Regions from separate parts of the Homo sapiens genome. Here all the other regions are linked to region 1. Evidence: promoter capture Hi-C in 16 types of primary human blood cells and fetal thymus (Javierre and others, 2016). All regions are on one chromosome and are shown on one strand. The core of a region is centred on a gene start or on the middle of the fragment in contact, and the rest is flanking DNA. Distances in the headings are between cores, read along the strand shown.

Region 1 (3,511 bases), core at 47-2,546:
TGGGCTGTGAGGATGCCCAGGACCAGGGACATCAAGGAAGAGAGGAGATATCCCTTTAACGCATTCATAACTCCAAGGCACAGCTAAGAATGAAGTGAGCCTCAACTTAGCAAACCCACAGGCCACCAAAGACACCTCGACAGCCAAGCTGCTAGAAGCACTTGGCAAAATAGGGCAGCTATTGGACATGTGGATGGCACAAACACCAGGCAGGCAAGATTCTGCTGAAGAAAGTTCACTGGGCCCTGTCACCCACATTCTAGGCATCAGATGCCCAGAAATAAACGTCAAGGGGCCAAGGGCGGGCCCAGTCCAGGAGGGACAGCTGACAGCTGTGGGCGGCGGGCAGGGGCAGAGGAGGAAGGGCTCCCAGGCTGGAATTCGGATCATGCCCACATCAGCAGAAAAGTTCCTGGGAACAGCACGCTGTCTGGAAGGGAAAGAGGCTTGCTGCGGTCCAGGCCCCGGGATGCACACGCGGTGGTGATGCCAGGTTCAAAGGGCCGCCGGATGAAGCCCCGTGTCCTCTCCCAGGGCCCCTCGCCGGTCAGGGCGCCCATCGCGGGGCAAGTAGGGTGGTCAGACGTCTTAAATAAAGCTTCGGTTCCCAGGATCAGTGGGGAAAAATGAATTCCCAGATCCGGCCTTGCTTCAACTCACTTTACCCAAACCAAACAGTCCCAGAGAGGAATGAAAGGAAGCAGCTTTGCTACTCCCTCCGCGGTGCAGGTGGGGAAACTGAGGCACGGAGTGCACGCCAGAGACTCGGGAAGAGGCCCAGAGGAGGCTAACGCAGCCGCGCGCGACCAGGCGTCTGGGAAGATGAGACCAGGGAAGAGTTCTCTCCTCTCCTCTCCTTTCCTTTCCCCGCCTCCGTTCCTCAACACACACAACACACACACAGCCACACTCGAGCTACGCCCAATCGGGGCAGCCGCCGGGCTCCCCAGACCCGGACTGCACACAGAGCCCCGCCCGCGCACACAGCACAACACGACCCGGCGCGCACGCCCACACAATAGGACGGCTCGCACCCCGCGGCGGCCCCTCGGCAGGGTCCGGGCCAGCCCGGCGCCGGGGTCCGCCCTCCGCGCTCACCCACGCCCGGAGAGCGGCCCGCGCCCGGGAGAGGACGCGATCGCACCCGGCCGCTGCGCCCCGCGCCCCGCGCCCCGCGCCCCGCGGGAAGTTCGCCGGCCGCCCCCCGACTCACCCGCGGCGCTGCTCAGCAGCAGGCACAGCGGCCCCAGCAGCCACATGGCGCGGCCGCCGCTCCCGCTGCCCGGCGTCGTTGCTGCCCCCGCGGCCTCGGCGCTGACCCCGCCCCTCGCCGCGCCGTCCCCGCCCTCCCGCCTGGCCCTCCTCCCTCCCGCCTTCCCCGGGCCCGGCCCCGGCCCGGCTCCGCTAAGTTTTGCAAGCGCCTGGGCTGCGCGTGGCCACCCGCATGTTACCCTGGGTGTCCTGACTCCGAGGGGCCGCCGAGCGCGGCGGAGGGTTCAGCCTTTCGGTCTCTCAGCCTTTCAGCCTCCCAGGTCTGGCCGCGAGGATCTTCTAACAGCCTGGGCTCTGTTCTCTGCTTCCTTTTGTCCCTCTCATTTCTGCCTTTGCTTCCACACCCAGCGAGATGCAGCGCCCAGACCAAAACTTGAGTTCTTTACTCAAACTACAAAGTGAGTTTACTACCGAGAGAGAAAAAGTTAAAATAAAGGGTCAAATCTTATGAGAAAATTGTAGTATATTTTTAGTAGCGAGTGTGGAATACCAGTGCTTCTCAAACTTTAATATGCATCCGGCACACTTGACGATCTTGTTAAAATACTGACTCTGGTTCAGTAGATCTGGCGTGGAGCCTGAGATTCTGCATTTTTAACAACATGGTGGCTGATTCCAAGGCTGATGATCCGGGAGCCACCGGTAAGAGCAGCTGACACCTACCATGCACACAGCGTGGACCACATGAGTTATTTTGTCTGCATAGTGTCCACCTTGACCTGTTGAACGTTTGGGACCCAATTTGGAAAAAATAAAATTAAAAAAAGGAAAAGGTCATGAAAGGCAGATACCCAAATGCAAAAAATATAGCTGCACCAATGCACTTGCTTCCAGAGGGCACTGGTGAAAAGCCCCAAAAGACTTAGATGGTGGAAGAAGGGGATGACACTTCTGTGCTCCACTCTCTCTGATCCCCCACCCAAAAAAAGCAAAAGACTAACGCAAATAATTGCCAAAAACTGGAAACAACTCAAGTGTCCATCAATTGATAAATGGATCAATAAATTAAAACTTTTGGGGGCAGTGGGACTGTTCTAATCTTGATTATAGAGGTAGTTACACAACTGTATACATTTGTCAAAACAATAGAACTGCATCCCTAAAATCCACCCCTCAAAAGGGTTGAGTTTATTTACACAAACTCCACCTGGCTGAAAGAAAGGGGAAGGTATGGGTACAGGGGCAGTTATAAAAGGGATGCCTGCGTCAGATTTTGGGATGCCCTGGAGACACCCTCAAGGGTGTTAAGATTCAATTACTTTACTCTGTAATTGCGTGCTGTAGTCTGGAAACATAAAGGCTAAAAAGGATCAGGTCAAAATTTAAAAATACCAATGATTGTTCAAGGTAATGAGAAAATGTGATGTGAGGGAGGAAAGGTTAAGTTCCATAGTTCATAGTACACATGGAAAATATAAATCAATTATCTAAATGATTTGGCATTCGGGGCTTTTATCCTGGGATTGATGAATATTATGGAGATCGTCCCATGGGCTTCAAAGAATTTTAAAGCCCTTAAAATTTTATGCAAAATGTCCTGTGCATGTGGGTATGTGCATTGTTCCGGGAAGCTTGTTGGGAAGAGGCCTCCTGCCTTTGATAATAATATCTGAGGAGGCAAATAAGCAAATAATTTCTCCTACAGCTGCTCATTTGCCTCCAAACATTAGGGATACGGAAAGATAATGCAACTGACCCACTGCTATAGTTCTTATTTCCTTAGGTTTCTTTGGACACATCAACTTCCTTACTTTGCAAGTTTGACTCTGACTCTCTCTCTCGTTCTCTCTCTCTCACATACACACAGGCACACACACTTTTAAATATAAATATATTAATGTCTTTGAAATCATTTGGACTAATGTAAAACCTTATTTAAGGTCAACTGTTGTATTTATTTATTTATTTATCTATTTATTTATTTATGAAACAGAGTCTCACTCTGTTGCCCAGGCTGGGTGCAGTGGCACATTTTGGCTCACTGCAACCTCCGCCTCCCGAGTTCCAGGGATTCTCCTGCCTCAGCCTCCCAAGTAGCTGGGACTACAAGCACCCGCCACCATGCCCAGCTAATTTTTGTATTTTTAGTAGAAACGGGGGTTTCACCATGTTGGCCAGGCTGGTCTCGATCTCCTGACCTCGTGATCCGCCCATCTCGGCCTCCCAAAGTGCTGGGATTACAGGTGTGAGCCACCGTGCCCGGCCCGACTGTTGTTTTTATACTTATACTAAATCACTG
Region 2 (3,267 bases), core at 55-2,554, 94 kb after region 1:
AGCTGGAGTGCAGTGGTGTGATCTTGGCTCACTGCAAGCTCCGCCTCCCGGGTTCACGCCATTCTCCTGCCTCAGCCTCGCGAGTAGCTGGGACTACAGGTGCCCGCCACCACGCCCGGCTAATTTTTTTGTATCTTTTTAGTAGAGACGGGGTTTCACCGTGTTAGCCAGGATGGCTTTGATTTCCTGACCTCGTGATATGTCCACCTTGGCCTCCTAAAGTGCTGGGATTACAGGCGTGAGCCACTGCGCCCGGCCATTATGATTCTTTTATGGGCAATTTCAAGCTTAGAATTTCGAATATAAAATATCAGACAGTGTCCAAACTAGAAAGAGAGGATACACTCAAAAAGCGTTTACCCAAGGAGAACTGAATGAAGGGGCCAAAGAAGGCGTCATCAGGGTTAATGGAACCAAAAAGGGAAAGTGTCACACCCAAGGATTAGCAATAGTGGGAAGCTATTACCACCTCTGCTGCAGGGGCAGAGACCAGGGAGAAATGAACACATGGAAAAGGCACTAACCACCGGAAGCAGGGGCCGGCGAACTATGGCCCGGGAGTCTGCCACCTGTTTTACAGATAAAGTTTTACTGGAAGACAGCTATGTCCATTCATTTACATATTCTCTATAGCTGCTTTGTGCTACAACGGCAGATCTGAGCCCTGGTGACAGACTGTATTGCCCACAAAGCCTAAAATATTTGCTGTCTTATGCTTTGCCAGAAAAAGTCTGCTGATCACTGCTGTTACGGGCAGTGTAACCCCCAAAATCCATACATTGAAGTCCTAATGCCAGTACCTCAGAATGTGACTGTAATTGAAGATTGGGTCTTTAAAGAAGTAATAAAATTACAATGAAGCCATTAAGGTGAGCCCTAATCAAATATTACTGGTGTCCAGTTTTTTGATTTTTCTTGTTTTTGTTGTTTTGAGACAAGGTCTTGGTCTGTTGCCCAGGCTGGAGTGCAGTGGTGCAATCTCAGCTCACTGCAGCCATGACCTCCCAGGCTCAAGAAATCCTCCCACCTCAGCCTCCTGGATAGCTGGAACTACAGGTGTGTGCCTCCATGCCTGGCTAATTTTGTTTATTTGTTTATTTTTTGGTAGAGATGGGGTTTCACCGTGTTGCCCATGGGTGTCTCGAACTCCTGGGCTCAAGCAATCCGCCTGCCTCAGCCTCTCAAAGTGCTGGGATTATAGGCATGAGCCACTAGCGTCCTAATAAGAAGAGATTAGGGCACAGACATGCACAAAGGGAGGACCATGTGAAGATGCAGGGAGAAGATGGCATGTGTAAATCAATGAGAGAGGCCTTAGAAGATAACAACCCTGCTCATGCCTGTATCTTGGATTTCTAGTCTCCAGAATTGTGAGAAATAAATTTATGTTGTTTAAGCCACACTGTGCTACTTTGTTATGGCAGCCCCAGCAAGCTAATATAACTGCTATAGTGGAGCAAAGCTACTGTCAGACCACAGGAAGGCAGAGAGGGTACATGGAGGATAAATCCCCTGACTGTTCCTTCTCCCACTCCTGATCTACTTCTGGTGACCACTATTAGCTCAACTCACCAGAAACCAGCCAACAAAGTTGTCTGGGTGTTTCTATCAATAAAGGTGGCTTCCCAGACCTCAGAGCAAGACACAGAAGGGCAGAGAATGGACCTAGGAGCAAAAGTAGAAGAACCAGGGCATACACAAGAAAGTAGGGAGAAGGGTACCCATCACCCAACTCCAACAATTACCAATATTTTTCCATTCTTGTTTCATCTCTCTCTGATTTTTTTTCTGGAGTATTTTAAGGCAAATCCTAGAAACCATATTGTTTCACCCAAAATTAGCTTAGTATGCATCTACAATAAATAAGAACTGTTAAAGAATGACAATAATGCCAATACCCAATAAAATTAACAGAAATTCCCTAAAAACGTCTCATAGTAGTCTATTCTCAAATGTCCCCATTGCTTCAAAAATATCTTTTAACAGTTGGTCTGTTATAATCAGGAGCTAAACAAAGTTCATGCATCACATTCATGTGTTGACAAAACGGAGTCATTTGTCCCCTTAAAGAACTTCTCACATTCTGGATTTGGCTGTTGGCATCACTGAGTTGTTGCTGAACTTGATCCTCTGTCTCCCGAATTTCCTGCAAACTGATGGTTAGATTTTGGCTTGATTAGATTCACGGGTGGTGTCTTCTCTTGCATCACTTTGCAGAAACAGACTATCTGCTTCTCCCACTTTCTGTAATGTTGAGAATGATCTGTGGGTTCAGAGATGTTAGCTTCCTCTTGCCATTATCAAGTTCTCCATTAAGCTTTTATCTAATGGTGTTAGTTTTTATTGATCATTGCCTGGTCCATTATCTCATTCAGGTTTGCAAAATGCTGATTTTCCAAATCTATCATTCCTTCTGCATTTATTAGGTAGAATTTTTCTACAGAGAAGAATTTTCCCTTACCAACTATTTGTAACCCTGAAATAATTATTACAGAAAAGACATAATACATATACCTGTCTTTTTCTTTATCATCTTTCAGAATACTAAGTCAGTGAACTAGCTGCCAATGATTTTTTCTTAGTATTATTAAGAACTCATAATTTAAACATATATTTAAGGTGTTTAAATCCATTGCAGTCAGTATGTCTTTTGATGCCAAATTGTGCCATCTTTGGCCAGTGGGAGCCCCTTCAGGTTGGCTCTTGTGTCCTTTTGACTTGACACCATTAATATTTCATCATTTCCTTGCTATCAGGCACAATAAGATGGCCCAAGCTCATTTTGTGCAGTTCTTTCTCCAGAGCAGTCATCAGACCTGTGTCTTGGTCCCGGCTCACTAGAAAACAGGCTGAGGCAAAAGTGTAAGTGCTAACAGTTTACTGGCAAGAGTGAAATCCCAGGGAAGCAGGGAGGTTTAAAAGAAATGGGAAGTGAGGCAGAGGAAAGGATGAAGTACAAAGGGAGATGTTCCCAGGTGGTCACAGCTTCCCAATAAGCACCCAATTGCTCAGATGCTCACAGCCTCTTGACACAGGAGGCATGGAAAGACTGCATCTCAGCACAGTCTGCCATGTGGCATCCCACATGCTGTTATCTCCTCTGCATCCCTGAGTTGTATTTCTTTGCTGCTATCATGGCTACAGGGGAAGCCAGGATCTCCACATGGCCTGTGCAGCCAGCGTATTGTCAAGGTGGCTCTCTTGGCACTCACTGTTGTATGTGCGTACTCCTCAGTGTGTGCTGGTGGCAGTGGCTCTGGGCACAGC
Region 3 (3,058 bases), core at 444-2,943, 120 kb after region 1:
TGAGACATTGTCTTTTTTATTATATAATCTTTAGTCCTCATGGCATCCTCTTTAGAGACCAAACAGCAATTAGTGAACTGTTTCAGACAGAAATCTGGATGGTCCAAGATCCTGGATTAAGATAGCTCTCTTTATGAATGCATTTTCAGAGTAAACAGGAAAAGTGTATTAAACCAAGCACTTCATTGTGGATAAGGAAAATCGATATCCTGTGGGTTGGACTGTTTTTAGTCTTACTACAAAAATGGATGCACTATTTATACCTGTTTTCTCCAGTCATGGCTATTAGCTCTTCACTTCAAGTTCACTCACTCAGCCACTACGGTGGAGAGCCAGTCATTGTAGGTTAAAAGCAACTAATGTTAGACCCCTGCTGGCCTGGTCTGGCACTGCACGGGGAAACACAATCTCCGATTCTTATTAGTGGGGAAATTGGTTTACAAAAGCAGAGCTGAGACGCCAAGGATTTGGTTTTGCCTCCCTTGATATCTAGGTGCCAATATGGGAGCAAGAAGAAAAGTGGGATTTGCCTTACAATGGAGAAGTTCTTGAGGAGGAACTGGGGATTATAATCTCCCTTCAGGGCGGTTGGGACTTGGATCAGCCTGCCCCACAAGCTCCCTCTTCATTGCTAACAGCTTGGAGGCTGGCACTGAGCTTTTCCATGTGTTCACACTCATTGTTGGTTGCACTCTCCAACCTCTAGGGGGCGCAGAGGCGTTCGCCTCAGCTTTTTTTTTTTTTTTTTTTGAGACAGAGTCTCACTCTGTCCCCAAGGCTGGAGGGGGCAGTGGCGCGATCTCAGCTCACTGCAACCTCCGCCTCCCGGGTTCACGCGATTCTCATGCCTCCACCTACCGAGTAGCTGGGATTACAGGCATAAACCACCATGCCCAGCTAATTTTTGTATTTTTAGTACAGACGGGGTTTCACCATGTTGGCCAGGCTGGTCTCCAACCCCTGGCCTCAAGTGATTCACCCACCTCAGCCTCCCAAAGTGTTGGAATTAGAGGCGTGAGCCACCACGCCTGGCCTTCAGCTTTTTCATTTTGTTGCTCCAAGACAAGGAGCCGGGACTAGGAAGGGTCAAGGGCACGATGGAGCGCTCAATGATACACGTGATGCGGCTGCTACAATAGGAGTCGTCGACTGTGGGTAAAAAAGCAACCAGAATTACAATGCTTTTCCTTCTTGTGGTCTGTACTTTCTCCTCTTCTCTCGTGAAACTGGAATGAATGGGGCCCAGAGAAAACGAAGCACAGAACAAGAGAAGGATAGCAAGAAGGGCCCAAACAAAACAAGAGCCTCAAATGGGCAAAGCTTTTGTTTTGGGGAAAGGGATCTCGGTTAATGCTCCTGTTTGGTAGAAATCAGACATAACAGGAATGAGGTTAGGGAGTGGTAAAGTGGTAAGGGGCTTGGCTCCACTTCCAACTCAGTGTTTTTGGTTAACATGAATAGGTAAACCCTAAAGGATTGGGATTGGGGAATCATGAGAGATGGGAAAAATCCCACTTTTCTTTGCTTGAACATGGCCTAGCAGATGACCTTTTCTTCTCACAGTAGAGAGCTCTAAGGAAGGTTATCAAAGTCCAAAAGTTAGGGTTTTAACTCATTTGACCTACTCTACTGGCCCTATGACTTGAAGGTCACAGTCGTGAGATGGGATTATACTGAGAACCAGGGTATCGTTCAACAATGTTCCTTGATCTCTTCCTCATTAGGGCTTGTGCCTCTTCAGAGTTTGGCTGGAGTGACACAAATCCACTCTTCCCAGTTAAAGATAAGTCATCCTGATTAGCTTCCCAGAGAATGTTCTGTGATTGCAGGAAGGAAAGTTGTGATTGCCAATCTGAACTTGGAGGCCTCAGTGATTTTCGGAAGCACTGTTTGCTGGGCTGAGTCAGCAGAGACAAACCTAACCTTGATTTTCTGGAGAGTGTTCTTCTACAAGGACAGATCCTCAGACACTTAGCCCGTCCCCTATTAATGAATACTGACGTCATTACCACATTTTTTGCCCTTAAAAGCAATGCTACATGATCATTCTTATGCAAAAAGCTTTGTACCTATGTCATATTTCTTTCAGGAAGATTTCTAAAAATGGGGTTGGATACCACCAAATTTCCTATCCAATAACCTGTTTTATTACTACACCAATCAAGTTATGATAATGATGCTAATATTGATAACTATTTCATTTCTTGATAACTTACTATTTGCCAGGTACGGTTTTAAGCACTTTTCACCCATTATCTTATTTGATCCTCTTATCAACCCAGTGTGGCAAGTTCTATTTTGGAGATGAGGAAATGGAGGCAAAGGGCATATAAGTTACTGGTTTAAAATGACTTAGTAAATGCCAGACCCAGGCATTCTGATCTAGAATGCCTCCCATTATTCACTCAAAGACAACTTACCTCTATTTCAAGAATAGAGAGCTTGGGCAAAAGGCAGCCACTGGGCTTAGTGAAGTTGGCCACTTCACCTGGGAAAGGAAGACAACTGGAAACATTTAATTGGAAAAGTTTTTATTGGAAATCTTGAGCCTTCATTAATAAATCTTTGATGTTGATATAAAAATCCAAGTTCAAGGTCACAAAAGGATTTCACTTCAGCTGTACCTATGCAACCTCCTTTTAAAATGCATAATTCAATCAACACAGTTCTACTTAACCTCTGCCAAACAACTGGCTGAACTGATTTTTTTTCCAGTTAAATTAACTGGTTGTCTTGGTGGTTTTGTCATGTTAGGCTGAGTATTGTGAAGTGAGATGGTGGGTTGATCCAATTCAAGGCCATACTTTGGTTGTGCATTTCTAAAAACAAAGTCACTTGATAGGTGTGAAACATCACAATGAAAACTGGGAGCCAATCAGGCAATAGCTTTTTCCAGGCATGTTTGTTGTCCATGAGCTCTTCTAGATGAAGCTCCTTTATTTCTGGGAGAGGAGTAGGAGGAAGCTGAGGAAAGGGATGAGGAAGAGACAGGAAAGAGAGCTGCCCCAGTAAGTGGGGATATTTATTCTTTATCATTGCTAAATGCTCTTGTTACCTT

What was found. The method cuts DNA at HindIII sites, captures the fragments that hold promoters and counts their contacts. A CHiCAGO score of 5 or more calls a contact.
Region 2: a fragment that was not itself captured here is called in contact with the fragment with the promoter of LDLRAD3 in region 1 in 1 of 17 cell types (endothelial precursors); the score reaches 6.6 in endothelial precursors.
Region 3: a contact is called between a fragment that was not itself captured here and the fragment with the promoter of LDLRAD3 in region 1, in 2 of 17 cell types (endothelial precursors and erythroblasts). The highest score is 6.7, in endothelial precursors.

The regions. Positions count from the first base shown.
Region 1 is chr11:35,941,847-35,945,357 of GRCh38, reverse strand. LDLRAD3 (low density lipoprotein receptor class A domain containing 3) reads right to left here and starts at 1,296. Exons shown (of 6, transcript NM_174902.4): 1 at 1,214-1,296. The coding sequence starts at 1,259. RefSeq lists a silencer at 946-1,385. The HindIII fragment of the contact is 2,245 bases long and covers 601-2,845 here.
Region 2 is chr11:35,847,665-35,850,931 of GRCh38, reverse strand. No RefSeq gene overlaps it. Among named protein-coding and RNA genes, the nearest start is that of LDLRAD3, 95 kb to the left of the region's middle. The HindIII fragment of the contact is 2,030 bases long and covers 290-2,319 here.
Region 3 is chr11:35,819,612-35,822,669 of GRCh38, reverse strand. No RefSeq gene overlaps it. Among named protein-coding and RNA genes, the nearest start is that of LDLRAD3, 120 kb to the left of the region's middle. The HindIII fragment of the contact is 741 bases long and covers 1,323-2,063 here.